Regions from separate parts of the Homo sapiens genome. Here region 1 is linked to region 2. Evidence: promoter capture Hi-C in human tissues and cell types (Jung and others, 2019). All regions are on one chromosome and are shown on one strand. Each heading gives the region's core, a stretch centred on a gene start or on the middle of the fragment in contact. The rest is flanking DNA. Distances are from core to core; before and after follow the strand shown.

Region 1 (6,892 bases), core at 2,689-5,188, 520 kb after region 2:
AGCCTCCCAAGTAGTTGGGATTAAAAGCATTTGCCACCACGCCTGGCTAATTTTTTGTATTTTTTTAGTAGAGATGGGGTTTCACCATGTTGGCCAGGCTGGTCTCAAACTCCTGACCTCAAGTGATCTGCCCACCTCGGCCTCCCAAAGTGCTAGGATTACAGGTGTGAGCCACCATGCCCGGCCCAGAGTTTACTTTTTTAACAAGTTCTCCAGTTTTGTGGATGCTGCTGGTCCCCCGACCACACTTTAAGAACCACAGCCTTGGGAGACAAGATCTCTGATCATCATTCCTGTTTACAGCCAGGAAACCCAGGCCTGGTGATGCTGAATCTGAACTCTTACCACAGTGTTGTCTGCCTCCCAGGCACCAGCCTATCCCTAAGATAAACTATTAATAGATCAGATGGCACAAACCATGAGGCTGCCCTCCAAACATGTTTTATGGAGTCTACAGAATGCTAAAAACTTCCTTAATGACTAACACTACAAAAAGGACATTTTTATAAATAAATTTACATACTGAGCTTTTCCTTGAAGAATCGTAAGATGTGGCCTCACTAGGCACTCCTTCCCACCAGATGATGACTGAGGGGAGCTGGGTGGCTAGGTGCCACTCCCTAATGTCCTACACCAATGCATCACTTCTGTTACCTCCCAGGCCAACTCTATGGGCACTTGACTTTGCAAGCCCTAAATTTTAACCCCTCCTCCTGTCTTTGAGGAGCCAAGCGCCTGGAGAGGGGATACCTTTACAGATGCCCTCAACCTTGGGCCACAGCTAAAGGCACAAGGAGGAAAGGCCCATAGAGGAAAGCAGAGGAAAGAGAAGTCACTTCTGGCTTGGGCAGGGAGGAGTAGGCATCAGTGAGGATTTCACTGAGGTGGTGGCATTTAAGCTGGGCAAGAGTTTGAAGGTGTATGGCACTGTTCACAATAGTAAAAGCCATGGAATCAACCTCAATGCCCATCAATGAAAGAATGAATAAAGAAAATGTGGTACATATACACCATGGAATACTATGCAGCCATAAAAAAGAACAAGATCATGTCCTTTACAGGAACATGGAAGGAGCTGGAGGCCATTATCCTTAGCAAACTAATGCAGGAACAGAAATTGCATGTTCTCACTTAGAAATGGGAGCTAAATGATGAGAACACATGGACACATCCATGGGAACAACACACCCTGGAGCCTTTCAGAGGGAGGAGGGAGAGGATCAGGAGAAATAACTAATGGTAAATAGACTTAATACCTGGGTGATGAAATAATCGGTACAACAAACCCCCATGACACAAGTTTACCCATTTAACAAACCTGCACATATACCCATGAACTTAAAAGTTAAAAAAAAAATTTAAAAACTAAAAAAAAAAAAAAAAAAAAAAAAAAAGGCCCACCTTCCTGAGCTCCTGATAAAGGGCTGAACTGAACTGAATTCCAGCAGGAGGAAATGGACCAGCCAGCACTTTCTCACCTCCCAGGATGCACCATTCCCAATGCCCACCTTACCCCCCACCCATAGCTCTCCAACTCAGTCCAATTCTGGTAAGAGTGGACAATGGCTGAGTGCTCTGGCCTGACTGGGTGACCTGCAGCAGTCAATCCCTCTGGGCCTCCAGTGCCTCATCTAGAATACGGGAAGAATCTTAGTTGCTTCTCTATTCTCCCCTTTCAGGGCTGTTGTGGAGGGGGCATGGTGGGAAGAAGGGAACTATGAAAGAGAGGGGTGAAAGAACTCCAAAAGAAAAGATTCTTTTGGCCAGGTGTGGTGGCTCACGCCTATAATCCCAACACTTTGGAAGGCAGAGGTGGGCAGATCACTTGAGACAAGGAGTTCGAGATCGGCCTGGACAACATGATGAAACCCTGTTTCTATAAGAATTACAGGCCGGGTGCGGTGGCTAACACCTGTAATCCCAGCACTTTGGGAGGCCGAGGCAGGCGGATCATGAGGTCAGGAGATCAAGACCATCCTGGCTAACACAGTGAAACCCCGTCTCTACTAAAAATACAAAAAATTAGCCAGGCGTGGTGGCGGGCGCCTGTAGTCCCAGCTACTTGGGAGGCTGAGGCAGGAGAATGGCGTGAACCCGGGAGGTGGAGCTTGCAGTGATCCGAGATAGCACCACTGCACTCCAGCCTGGGCGACAGAGCAAGACTTCACCTCAAAAAAAAAAAAAAAAAAAAAAAAATTACAAAAAAATTAGCCAGGCGTGGTGGCACACGCCTGTAGGCCCAGCTACTCAGGAGGCTGAGGTGGGGAGGATCACTTGAACCCAGGAGGCATAAGTTGCAGTAAGCCGAGATCTTGCCACTGCACTCCAGTCTGGGTGACAGAGCCAGATGGTCTCAAAAAACAAAAACAAACAAAAGGATTATCTTATTTCAGGGGACTGCAAATCTCCTTTTGAAAATCTTTCCTCAAACTAGACCTCTCCCATCCTGATTGCTCATTCAAGTTATTCATTCAACAGCTATCTATGGAGCAGCCACTGAGAACGTGCTGGGGGACCAGCCAGCGCTTGCCCTCAGGGAGCTGGAGACCCTGGCAGGAGGGCACAGATGTGCATCAAGGCACTCCACAATTGCCCAGTATTATGCTGGCGGGCTGCTCTCAAAGCTGAGAGGGACTCTGAGCTCAATGTGGGGTGGGATCAGGGAGAGCTTCTTGGAGGAAGTGGCATTTATACCCAGGCCTAAAGGATGATGAGATTTAAGTAGATGAAGAGAGATGGCCTCTGCTCCCAGCATCCCCCTCTGCCAATATGGGCCTCCTGCCCCACCAAACTGCTGAGTCTCACACTCCCTGGGAAAACCCTGTTCCTTTCAAGACTCAGTTCAAAGTACACAGCAGGTGGGTGAATGAATGAATAATGCCCAACCAGGGCCTTCCTATTCAAACTCATGTATTCTTTCCTTTCTTCAAATACTTTACCATCCAGCATGAGTCAGAAGAGACCTGAGAGGCCTCCTACCCTACCCTTGCCCAGCCCATTCTCCAGAAAAGCAAACAGAGGTTGCACCTGGTTTGGTGTCTGGTGGAGGCAGCAGCAACTCCCGGAGCTGGGAGTCTTTAACATCCTCGATCCAGCGGAGGTCCAGGAGCCGCAGGGCTGGCAGTGGGGCTGAGCCCAGGGCAGAGACAGAGAGCCAGGAGCAGCCAGAGAGCACCAGCTCCTGCAGGCCTGCGGAGAGGGGGCAGTCAGGAAGCAGGTGCTGTGAGGACTCCATCCCAGGCCTGTCCCTGTCCCCACCCTGTCCTCCGTACCACACACCCTACCTTGTAGTCGGTTCAGAAGCCACATGAGCTGCTTCTTGGAGACACCTGTCCAGCTGAGGTCCAGGGCACGGGGCTGGCGGCGAACCACACCACTGAGCATGGGCGGGGTCAGTGACTTCCGCCGGCTCAGGTCCATTCGAGGCCACAGACGCTTGTCATAGCACCTGGCGGCCATAGGGGGGAGACAGAGACCTCAGCCCTCAGCTCTCAGCAGCCCACAGTTCCCAGGCTCCCCAGCTCCAAGGGTGCACCCCAGCTCTCTTCTGGCCACACAGACAACAGGGTAGCAAGAAGCACCTGACCTCAGCCAAGAGCACTGGGATTGGAACCCAACTCCATCACTAACTGGAAATGAGACCCTGGGCAAGTCTGTTCCTCTCCCTGAGCCTCAGAAGCCTCGTTTATGATTGAAGGCAATAGCCCCCCCACTCTGCCTGCCCACAGGGCAGCTGTCAGGTCACATGGGCTCATCCCAGCTGTGGGCCTCCCAGCATAGAAAGTGTGCTGCCCAACACATACACAAATGCCACGCATGCTGCCTGATGTCATGCCAAGGGGACTGGTGTTATCCAGTCGTCTCCAGCCACCCTTGGGCTTCTTGATTCCTGACTGAGTTCTGGTGCTCATGGGTCCTTGCCTCCTTTACTCATCTCTGCTTCTGATCCACACCTGTCCCATCTTGACAGCCAGCTGCCCGCAGCTGGACTTACAGCCCTAATATCTTCCCTATTACATTACTGTGTTCCTCCAACTACAATGTAAATTCCACAAGGGCAGATTTGCGTTTTCCACTTTTTGAAAAAAAATTTTTTTTGAGACAGGGTCTCACTCTGTAACCCAGGCTGGACTCAGGCTCACCGCAGCCTCAACCTACTGGGCTCAAGCAATCCTCCCACCTCAGCCTCCTGAGTAGCTGGGACCACAGGCACATGTCACCACGCCTGGCTAATTTTTAAACAATTTTTTTGTAGAGACAGGGTCTCACTATGTTGCCTAGGCTGGTCTTGATCTCCTGGCCTCAAGCGATCCTCCTGCCTTGGCCTCCCAAAACACTGGGATTACAGGCATGAGCTACTGCACCCAGCTGCCCATTTGTAATGAATGAATCAAGCTAGTAACTACTTAAAGCTTCCACTGACCACTCTCCCCCACCTCCTCATCTACAGCATTTCATTTATTCACTCTGATTATAGAAAGCGTTATAGGTCCCAAGTATTGAAGCTACAAAGATGAACGAGTCCTAAGCAACATTAAACAGGTTTCCTAACCCGAGCACTCCACAGGCCTCAACAGACTATCTAACATGCAGTGGGCTGGGTGCAGTGGCTCACACCTGTAATCCCAGCACTTTGGGAGGCCGAGGTGGGTGGATCATGAGGTCAGGAATTCGAGAACAGCCTGGCTGTTCTACTAGTGAAACCCTGTCTCTACTAAAAGTACAAAAAATTAGCTGGGCATGGTGGCGGGCGCCTGTAATCCTAGCTACTCGGGAGGCTGAGGCAGGAGAATTACTTGAACCCGGGAGGCGGAGATTGCAGCGAGCCGAGATCGCACCACTGCACACCAGCTGGGGCAACAGTGAGAGACTCCATCTCAAAAACAAACAAACAAACAAACAAACAAAAAACATGCAGTGAACTGGAGAAGGGCCTCTCAAACGTACTTCCCCAGGAATCCTTCCCCACCTCTCCCAAGGTAATCTAGTAACATTTTGTAGTACACTGAAGTTCCTTTGGACTCAGTTTGAGAACTCTCTTCTCTGAGTTCAGTAGTTCTCAAAGGCATGTCCAGAAATGCCTCTGAGACTCAATAGACTGTGTCAGAAGCAGCAGGCCCAGGAAGCTTTTTTTTTTTTTTCTTGAGACAGTGTCTTGCTTAGTCACCCAGGCTGGGGTGCAGTACTGCGATCACAGCTCACTGCAACCTTAAACTCCTGGGCTCAAGCCATCCTCCTACCTCAGCCTCCTGAGTAGCTGGGACTACAGGCACATGCCACCACACCTGACTTTTTTTTTTTTTTTGAGACAGAGTTTCGCTCTTGTTGCCCAGGCTGGAGTGCAATGGTGTGATCTTGGCTCACTGAAACCACCATCTCCCAAGTTCAAGCGATTCTCCCGCCTCAGCCTCCAGAGTAGCTGGGATTACAGGCATGCGCCACCACGCCCGGCTAATTTTTTGTATTTTTAGTAGAGATAGGGTTTCTCCATGTTGGCCAGGCTGGTCTCGAAATCCTGACCTCAGGTGATCTGCCCACTTTGGCCTCCCATAGTGCTGGGATTACAGGCGTGAGCCACTGTGCCTGGCCTATTTTTTTATTTTTAGTAGAGACAAGGTTGTCCAGGCTGGTTTTGAACTCCTGAGCTCAAGCGATCCTTCCCTTGGCCTCCCAAGGGAAGCTTTCTCTTGCCTCCCTCCCTGCCCTCATGACTCTGAAAGGCTTTTCCTTGTAGAAGCCCTGGGCTGGGGCAGTGATTCCCAAGCTCCAGTATTTGCTGTTCACTTATCTGCGTAACATGATTTATCTTTGAATCATCTCCTCTTTGCACTTAAAACCAGTATTGTTGCCGGGCGCGGTGGCTCATGCGTGTAATCCCAGCACTTTGGGAGGCCGAGGTGGGTGGATCACTAGGTCAGGAGATCAAGACCATCCAGGCTAACACAGTGAAACCCCGTCTCTACTAAAAAAAAAATACAAAAAATTAGCTGGGCGTGGTGGAGGGCGCCTGTAGTCCCAGATACTCGGGAGGCTGAGGCAGGAGAATGGCGTGAATCTGGGAGGTGGAGCTTGCAGTGAGCCGAGATCGTGCCACTGCACTCCAGCCTGGGCGACAGAGCGAGACTCCGTCTCAAAAAAAAAACAAAAAAAAAAACCCCAGTATTGTTTCACATAAATATGTTAATCTTAAAAATAAACACAAAAGTCCAAGTGTGGTGTAATCCCAGCACTTTGGGAGGCCAAGGTGGACAGATCACGAGGTCAGGAGATTGAGACCATCCTGGCTAACACGGTGAAACCCCATCTCTACTAAAAATACAAAAAATTAGCCGGGCGTGGTGGCGGGCACCTGTAGTCCCAGCTACTTGGGAGGCTAAGGCAGGAGAATGGCATGAACCTGGGAGGCGGAGCTTGCAGTAAGCCGAGATTGCGCCACTGCACTCCAGCCTGGGTGACAGAGCGAGACTCTGTCTCAAAAATAAATAAATAAATAAATAAAACACAAAAAAGACCAGAGTTATTAAATCCTAGCCAGGTGTTGCTGTGGCTTTAGGCTACTACCTGAAGACTACTTTTGTTAAACAGGGAGATAAGTATCAGAGAAGTGTTAGAAAAAGCACCCAATAGTGGCCAGGCGCAGTGGCTCACGCCTGTAATCCCAGCACTTTGGGAGGCCGAGGCAGGCGGATCACGAGATCAGGAGATGGAGACCATCCTGGCTAATACGGTGAAACCTCGTATCTGCTAAAAATACAAAAGATTAGCCGGGCGTGGTGGCAGGCGCCTGTAGTCCCAGCTACTCAGGAGGCTGAGGCAGGAGAATGGCGTGAACCCAGGAGGCGGAGCTGGCAGTGAGCCGAGACTGCACCACTGCACTCCAGCCTGGGCGACA
Region 2 (7,453 bases), core at 2,590-5,089:
ATCACCTGAGGTCAGGAGTTCGAGACCAGGCTGGCCAACATGGTGAAACCTTGTCTCTATTAAAAATACAAAAATTAGCTGGGAGTGGTGGCCGGCACCTGTAATCCCAGCTACTCGGGAGGCTGAGGCAGGAGAACTGCTTGAACCAAGGAGGTAGAGGTTGCAGTGAGTGGAGATGGCACCACTGCATTCCAGCCTAGGTGACAGAGTGAGACTCTGTCTCGAAAAAAAAAAAGGTAGACTCAGGGGAGTGGAGTGTGTTAAATAGGAACTGGCAGGTGGTCGTGTGGGAATCAGGAGTCTGGGTTATAAAAGTCTTATTCAGACAGAATAGGGGTGGAGGTAGTGAAGAGGACCAAGACAGACACAAACCCCACATCACTGCACTGCTCACCCTCCCAAGCCCTGAGGCAGGGACTCACCTGAGGCTCCGGAAGCTTCCACCCTGTGCCCGCTCAGGGGTCCTCTCCTCAGGAAAGTCCCAGGAAGCAGCTTCTCTTCCCTCTTCTTCCTCCTCACCAGCCTCACCACACAGCTGCCCAGCCAGGAGAGGCACAAGTCCCAGAGCCTGCAGCCGGCCCAGGGCCCCAGTGTCATACAGAAACCCCACAAGGGCAGCCACAATACGAGGGTGCCATGCGCTTGCACGAGGGTCCCGCAGCAGGCCCATCAGTAGATCCAAGCCACCAGCATCCCGCAGTCGGGCCCGGTTGATGGCCTCACGACATAGGAGGCACACAGCCCGCACCAGGGGCTGCTGGGAGGTTGGGCTAGCTCCATTAGGATCCCGGCGCTGCCGGAGCTCATCTACCAGCACCTCCACGCCACCAGCATTGCCCAGTGCAGGCCGAATCAGGCCCTGGGCACACAGGTTGGCGAGGATCAGAATGGTTCCCTCGCGTACTGCCCGCTTGGGGTGGGAAGCCAGGCTGACGAGTGGGCCCAATCCCCCACCCAGACTTAGCTGCTCAGCACAGGCCCGGGAGCAGCCTCGGCTGAGTTCCAGGAGGGCACGGACGAGGGCTAAGGTCAGTGCAGCATCTGGGGCAGTGGCCAGGAGCTCGGCCAGCGGACGCACTGCTCCCTGCTGTGCCAAGGCCAGGCGGTGCTGGGGTGAGTCTGCCAGGTTACGGAGGGCACGCACCACGCTCTGTAGGCACTGCGAGTCCTGGCAGGCTGTCAGGCTCTCCACAAGCAGGGGAACAGCACCTGAGGGCAGGAAAGGGGAGCACAGAGGGTGAACAAGGACAGACACTCAAGCCTTTCTTCTGCCCCAAGCCCTAGCAGACCCCAACCTCACAGCCTCTTACCAGCACAGTGGATGTCCCCACAGCTCTCAGGTTCCATGGCTAAGTTCCCCAGGGCACGGGCCGTTCGGTTCTGGATGCTGTCTGTCTTCATGCACTGAAGAATGGTCACTGCAACGACAGTTTGGGCTTGTGAGGGTTCTACCCCTTACTGTCTCTCACATCAATAACCTGGAGAATGTGGCCTGAGAGGGCCTGGAAGGCTTTCAGAAGAGGCTAATGGTCGGCAGGGCACCGTGGCTCAAGCCTGTAATCCTAGCACTTTGGGGGACCAAGGTGGGTGGGTCACTTGAGGTCAGGAGTTCAAGACCAGCCTGGCCAACGGGGCCAAACCCCATCTCTACTAAAAATACAAAAATTATCTGGGCATGGTGGTACACGCCTGTAATCCCAGCTACCCGGGAGGCTGTGGCAGGAGAATTGCTTGAACCCAGGAGGCAGAGGTTGCAGTAAGCTGAGATCGTGTCACTGCACTCCAGCCTGGATGACAGAGCAAGACTCCATCTCAAAAAAATAAAAAGAAAGAGGCTAACACTCGGGCTGGGTCTGGAGGGGTACACAGGAAGGTATTTGCCAGAAGCACGGTGGATGGGGGTGTGAGAAGGCATTTCAGGTTTGGAAGCAGCCTTTCCAAAGGCCCAGAGGTAAGATACAGTGTCTGTGAAAGGCTTCAAATGTCAGGCCAAGGGGTCAGGACTTGAATGTGAAGGCACTGGGGGCCACACAAGGGTTTTATGAAGGGGAGTGACACGATACAATCTGACATCCATAGGGAGAATGCATTATGGGGAAAGAATAGGAAGGGGGGAGTCAAAAGGCTGTCATAATAGTCCAAGCATGAAAAGACAATAGCTTGAACCAACCCAGCTACTGGCATCACACAGCACAGAGATACCAGTCTCTGGGCACACAATGGAAGTAGGAAGAGAGAGAAGCAGATAAATTCAGAAGATATTTAAGATGAAAAATAGTAGCTGAATGATGGGGGTTATTTAATAACCAAAGCTCTTGTCAAACATATATGGTCCAGATACATTTTATGTAAATTTTAAATATATTAATGCTTCCCTTTATCCGAAAAGTTAAGATGTCATCAAAACTAGCATAATTTCGTGGAAGGCAGGTAGTGACATGTAAACTGCTTTCACACATTGCCACTAGGAGGCACCAATTTAGCTGGTAAACAGAAAAGCTTATGTTTTGCTAGGATTTGTTCTTACTGTGCTGGTTTTAATTATTTTTATTTATTTTTTCCTGCTTCCTAAGCGACTACTGATTTGTTTGGTTTTCTAAGATACGAGGTCTTGTTACGTTGCCCAGGCTGGAATGCAGTGGCTATTCACAGGCAGTCATTGTTCACTGCAGCCTCAACCTCCTAGGCTCAAGGGATCCTCCCGCCTCAGCCTCCCAAATAGCTGGAACTACAGGCGCGTACCACTGCACCCAGCTTATGCTAGTTTTTAATAACTTGAAATACGTATCATGCTTAGAATATTTGCATATTCGTGCCATATTTGTACTTCGTTTTCTCCCCACTCTGATTTTTTTAGGTAGCTATTATTGCCCCATTTTACAAGGAATCCTAGCCTCGGAGGGGTTAGGTGACTTTTGCAGATCTCCCTTTCTGAACCACTACACCTTCCAGCTCATCAGTGGGGCTTCAGAACCTTGCACAGGGCCGGACACATAGTTGGGCACTGAATGTCTGCTATGAACATCATAACTGGACGGTAAGAATCATCTGAAAAAATCACCAAATAACTCTTTGGCCTCCGCTAGTCCAGCTTCGAAAGAAGTCCTCAACAACCAATTCCTAGATAATGGCTACAATTATCTGGTCTGGGAGGGCTCTCTCTCATCTATAGAGAGTGCAGTGACGTCACGGGGCACAACAGATTGAGAAACAGGAGCGATGCGCCATCACAAAGCACGTTATTCCGGGATAGGACACAAAGAACTCCAGACTGCCCGGGTCTAGAGAGCAAGGGAGTTGCAAACCTAATCTTTCTAGGAAACGGGGGCGGAGCACTTACCCAAAGGGAGTATGCCTCCGAGTCTGCGCACTTCGGTCCGGCACGCCCCTTCCGTACAGCAATCGGCTAGGATGCTGAGCGCCAAGTCCAGCGTCTTGCGCAGGCGCACTGGCGGCGTAGGACTAGACGACGACACAGCGGAGGGGGCGGGGCCCGACGCGGGGGCGGGGCTAGAAGCTCCCGACGCGGCCGACGAGGGGGCGGAGCCGGGGCCTGCCTGGGACGGGGCGGAACCCGCTGCAGCCGCTCGCCGTAGCAGCGCGAGTAGGGGGCGGAGCCCGCCGCGTGCCCGGAAGCGCTCGATTCCCCCCGCTGCCTTGATGTGGCGCGTGCGGAGGGCTAGGAGCGCGCGGCTCAGGGGTGTCTCGTTGGTCGCTGGGTCCTTTTCCCCACCCAGAGCCTCCCCGGCCGCCGCCGCGAGCTGCGCGAGGCAGAACGAGAGCGAGTCCGTGAGGGTTGGCTTCGCAGCCGCCATCTTGGCTCGGGCCTCAGACTCCGCCCCGCTTCTCGCCGCTGATCCCAGGGAGCGGAACTGGAAGACAGGGAAATCGTCGGGCACCGCCTCGCTGACGCTGTTTAGCGCCACCGCAGTGATGCAAGTCGGAAGTTGTAGTTCTCGACCCCGGAAGTCTGTCCTTGCACACGAGGCGCGGCAGTACCTTAATCGCAGCGCATCCTGGGACGTGCGGGCGGTGCATGAGGGAGATGTGGTCCGCGTCGAGCTTCTCACGCCTACCTCGGGAAGCGCTGGAAACTCTTCCAGGGCCCTCCAGGTGGGCCAGGGCCTCCGAACAGCCCAGAAGTCCGACCACGGAGCCTTCGTGCCGTGCCCCGCCCCCGGCGTGCACTCGGCGGGGACCGCCTTTTCTCCTCTAGGCTCGCTTCGCTGCCCCCCAGCGGTGGTGCGGCCCGGCCTTGGGACGGACTCCGAGAACCCCGAGCCGGGCCGAAAGTGCGGGGTCCTGACCGCGCCGCAGACGGGGAGCCCTCGCTCGGTCAGAGGAAGAAGAGGGTTAAACCTACCGAGAACGTTCGCTGCCGCTTCCTAGAGTGACGGGCTTGTGGAATTTTCCGTTTCCGGAGCTGGACCCCGGTGTCCCGAGTGTCCTCCGCTCTGGACGTGCTCGTGAGCTCAGGAGCTGGCATCTAGGAAACGGGGAGTTCTTCACTCGCAGCGCAGTCGGCCGCGCCAGAAGAGGCGAGGGAGAATCCGGACGGGGCGGGGCGGCGGGGGAGCGGGACATTCGCGTCCCGGGGAGCCCCCAGGTCACCCCTGGATTGCGAGGTGGCTCCGCCTGAGCAGCCCTTCCTGGTGTGGTCGGGGCAGCTGCCCGCCCGGAAAATGGTCAGGCTCTAGCCCTGGGGAGGAAGAAGCCTTTGCCAAGAGCAACCGTCTACAAGCCCCAAAACCTGCGAGTGCCGGAAATGTGGACTGACCACAGCCTGCCTCCCCGGCTTCATTCACCACCAAGGCAGCCCCTCTGGTGACAAGCCTTACCGTTGTCCGGGTTATGGCAGAAGCTTCCGATGTGGCTCTGATCTGGTTAAGCACCACTGGGTACACACCGGTGAAAAGCCGTACTCCTGCCCCGAGTGTGACCATCGCTTCGGCCCTATGCCTGTGCCTAGTGTGGTAAGACTTTCAGCGTCAGCTCCAACCTGATCCAGCACCAGCGCGCTCACACCGCTAAAAGCCTTACCGCTGAGGGGACTGCGGCAAGAGTCTCAGCCTTGGCTCCACCCTGTTGCAGCACCTGCGCTCCACATGGGTGAGAAGGCCTCTAAGTGCCTTGTTTGTAGTAAGAGTTTTGTGCACAGTTGGAATCTGCTGCGGCACCAGCACAGTCACAAAGTCCGGAAACCTGATGCTTGGTGGTGAGTGTGGCCAGACCTTCGGCCACAGCTCCCACCTGCCCATCCACTAGGCGGCCCACAGCAGCACCCCTGCGTCTGCCTGCAGTGTGGCAGGGCCCTAGCGCAAAGCTCCAACCTGGGCCAGCACCAGCGGACGCACTAGGGCGGCAGCCTCTGCAAATAGCCCTGGCTTCAATTTTAGCTGAAACTTCAGCTCTGACTTTGGTTCGGACTTCAAGGAAATGGAAGGAACCAGGATCTCTAAGCAGACCCCCTTCTGCTCCCTTAGGGCTGTTGATTTTAGAGCTAATGATGGGATTCGGTTGGGGCGAGGGGGTCTCCACATCTTTTTGCCCAACCCTTTGCTAAGTCAAGGAACCCCAGTCTGGGCTGGGCATGGTGGCTCATGCCTGTAATCCCAGCACTTTGGGAGGCCAAGGTTAGCGGATCACTGGAGGCCAGGAGTTCGAGACCAGCCTGGCCAACATATTGAAACCCTGTCTCTACTAAAAAAAAAATGCTAGGCGTGTTGGCTCTCGCCTGTAATCCCAGCTACTCGGGAGGCTGAGGCAGGAGACTCACTTGAACCCCGGGAGGCGGAGGCTGCAGTGAGCGAAGATCGTGCCACTGCACTCCAGCCTGGGCGACAGAGAGTGTCTCAAAAAAATAACAAATTTAAAAATTGTTTTTAACAAAGGAGCCCCAGTCTGGAAGAATCAGAACACTAGATCTGTGATCACTGCCTTCAAAGAGCCCAGTCAGCTGAGAGGGCTTAGGTTTGTTCTTTGAAGTTACAAAGACAGAACGTCGACCAGCTGAAGGGAGAGTTTTGGAATGGCGGGAGCTATCCAGCGTGGACCCAGCTGCCTGCAGATCTGGCAGTAGCTGACACAGTCCCTTCACAGGCCTAGGGAGTGATGGGGTTAATCACACCTAGAACAACAGCTACCTCTTCCCAGAGGAATGGGACCAGAAATCAGGCAAGCCCCTGTGAGGAGTTCCATGGCAGCGCGCAGGCGGGGCATTCCTAACCTCCAGAGGGAACCATGAGGGATCCTGTGTTCTGGCAGATGGGCCAGAGAATTTGAACTTGGGACCATTGTGTGAGCCCTGGGTGTGTGAGCCCTTCAAAAGTCCTCTCAGCACGTGAGAACTATCATTATGGATGATGCTAGGGTGGTGGGGGCCCCAGAACAGACCTGTATGTTGAGTTCAGGGGTTGCTTTGTTGCATTTCTGGGCAGGGGCAAGAGGCCCAGGGTTTGTCATCTGCCCCTTCCCCTGCCTTATCCCCTTCCCTTCCAAGTTCCCCAGGCTCCTTTTCTGCCAGTCTGTCAAGAGAGGGAAGAGTGGCGAAGAGTCCTTTGTGCCTGGACATTGGGGACTGAACATGGCCCTTTTGCCTGGGCATTGCCCAAACATATATTTCTACTGGCATAACTTTGTGTATGTGAGAGCCAGGGGTAGGCTTCCCAAAGCACCTGCCTGTGCTCAGAGTAGACACCAAGCTCTGAGGCCCTTCCCTTCCCTGCTGGGGGAGGGAGTTGTCTGTTTCAAGGACCTAATGTCCACCCCTTGTGGGACAGTCCTACCATCAGTCCAGGCATCTGGTCTGCTGCCCCCAAATTTTACCATCTTTTTTTTTTTTTTTTTTTTTTTTTTTTGAGACGGAGTCTCACTCTGTTGCCCAGGCTGGAGTGCAGTGGCACGATCTCAGCTCACTGCAACCTCCGCCTCCTGGGTTAAAGTGATTCTCCTGCCTCAGCCTCCCGAGTAGCTGGGACCACAGGCTTGCGCCACGATGCCAGCCAGTGTTTGTATTTTTAGTAGAGGGTTTCACCAACCCTCTACTAAAGACCAGCCTCTAGTTGGTCAGGCTGGTCTCGAACTCCTGACCTCAAGTGATCCATCCGCCTCAGCCCCCCAAAGTGCTAGGATTACAGGCATGAGCCACCACGCCCGGTAATTTTGCCATCTTTTATCAGGCTTTCTGTGTCGAGGACGCTACCCACATAGAGTAGAACCTAAAGGGAAGGGATGTGAAGTGACCTCACCCTCAGCTTCTAGCTCATGGTGTCAAGGCTTGTGTGATCTTAGACACGTCTGCCTCTTCTGAGCCTGTTTCTTCATCTGTAAAACAGGGATGGGAGGTTGTGGTAAAGATTCCACAGCAACACTGCACACGCATGAAGTACCTGGGCCAGGGATGACTCGGCAGACCTCAGTTTCCCTCTGCCTCCTGCCTAGAGCTGTTAGCAAG

Evidence for each region. The method cuts DNA at HindIII sites, captures the fragments that hold promoters and counts their contacts. A contact is called where the count stands out against the background at its distance.
Region 1: a contact is called between a fragment that was not itself captured here and the fragment with the promoter of ARMC5 in region 2, in 3 of the 25 tissues and cell types used here (dorsolateral prefrontal cortex, lymphoblastoid cells and spleen).

The regions. Positions count from the first base shown.
Region 1 is chr16:30,938,672-30,945,563 of GRCh38, reverse strand. FBXL19 (F-box and leucine rich repeat protein 19) reads right to left here. Exons shown (of 11, transcript NM_001382779.1): 8 at 3,285-3,448; 9 at 3,028-3,189. Among named protein-coding and RNA genes, the nearest start is that of ORAI3, 7.0 kb to the left of the region's middle. RefSeq lists an enhancer at 2,058-3,000 and a silencer at 3,425-3,554. The HindIII fragment of the contact is 5,049 bases long and covers 1,414-6,462 here.
Region 2 is chr16:31,455,887-31,463,339 of GRCh38, reverse strand. It overlaps ARMC5 (armadillo repeat containing 5), which reads right to left and starts at 3,839. Exons shown (of 6, transcript NM_001105247.2): 1 at 3,341-3,839; 2 at 1,311-1,418; 3 at 423-1,209. The coding sequence starts at 3,815. RefSeq lists a silencer at 3,291-3,640 and enhancers at 3,831-4,170, 4,169-4,709, 5,357-5,925. The HindIII fragment of the contact is 6,359 bases long and covers 3,681-7,453 here.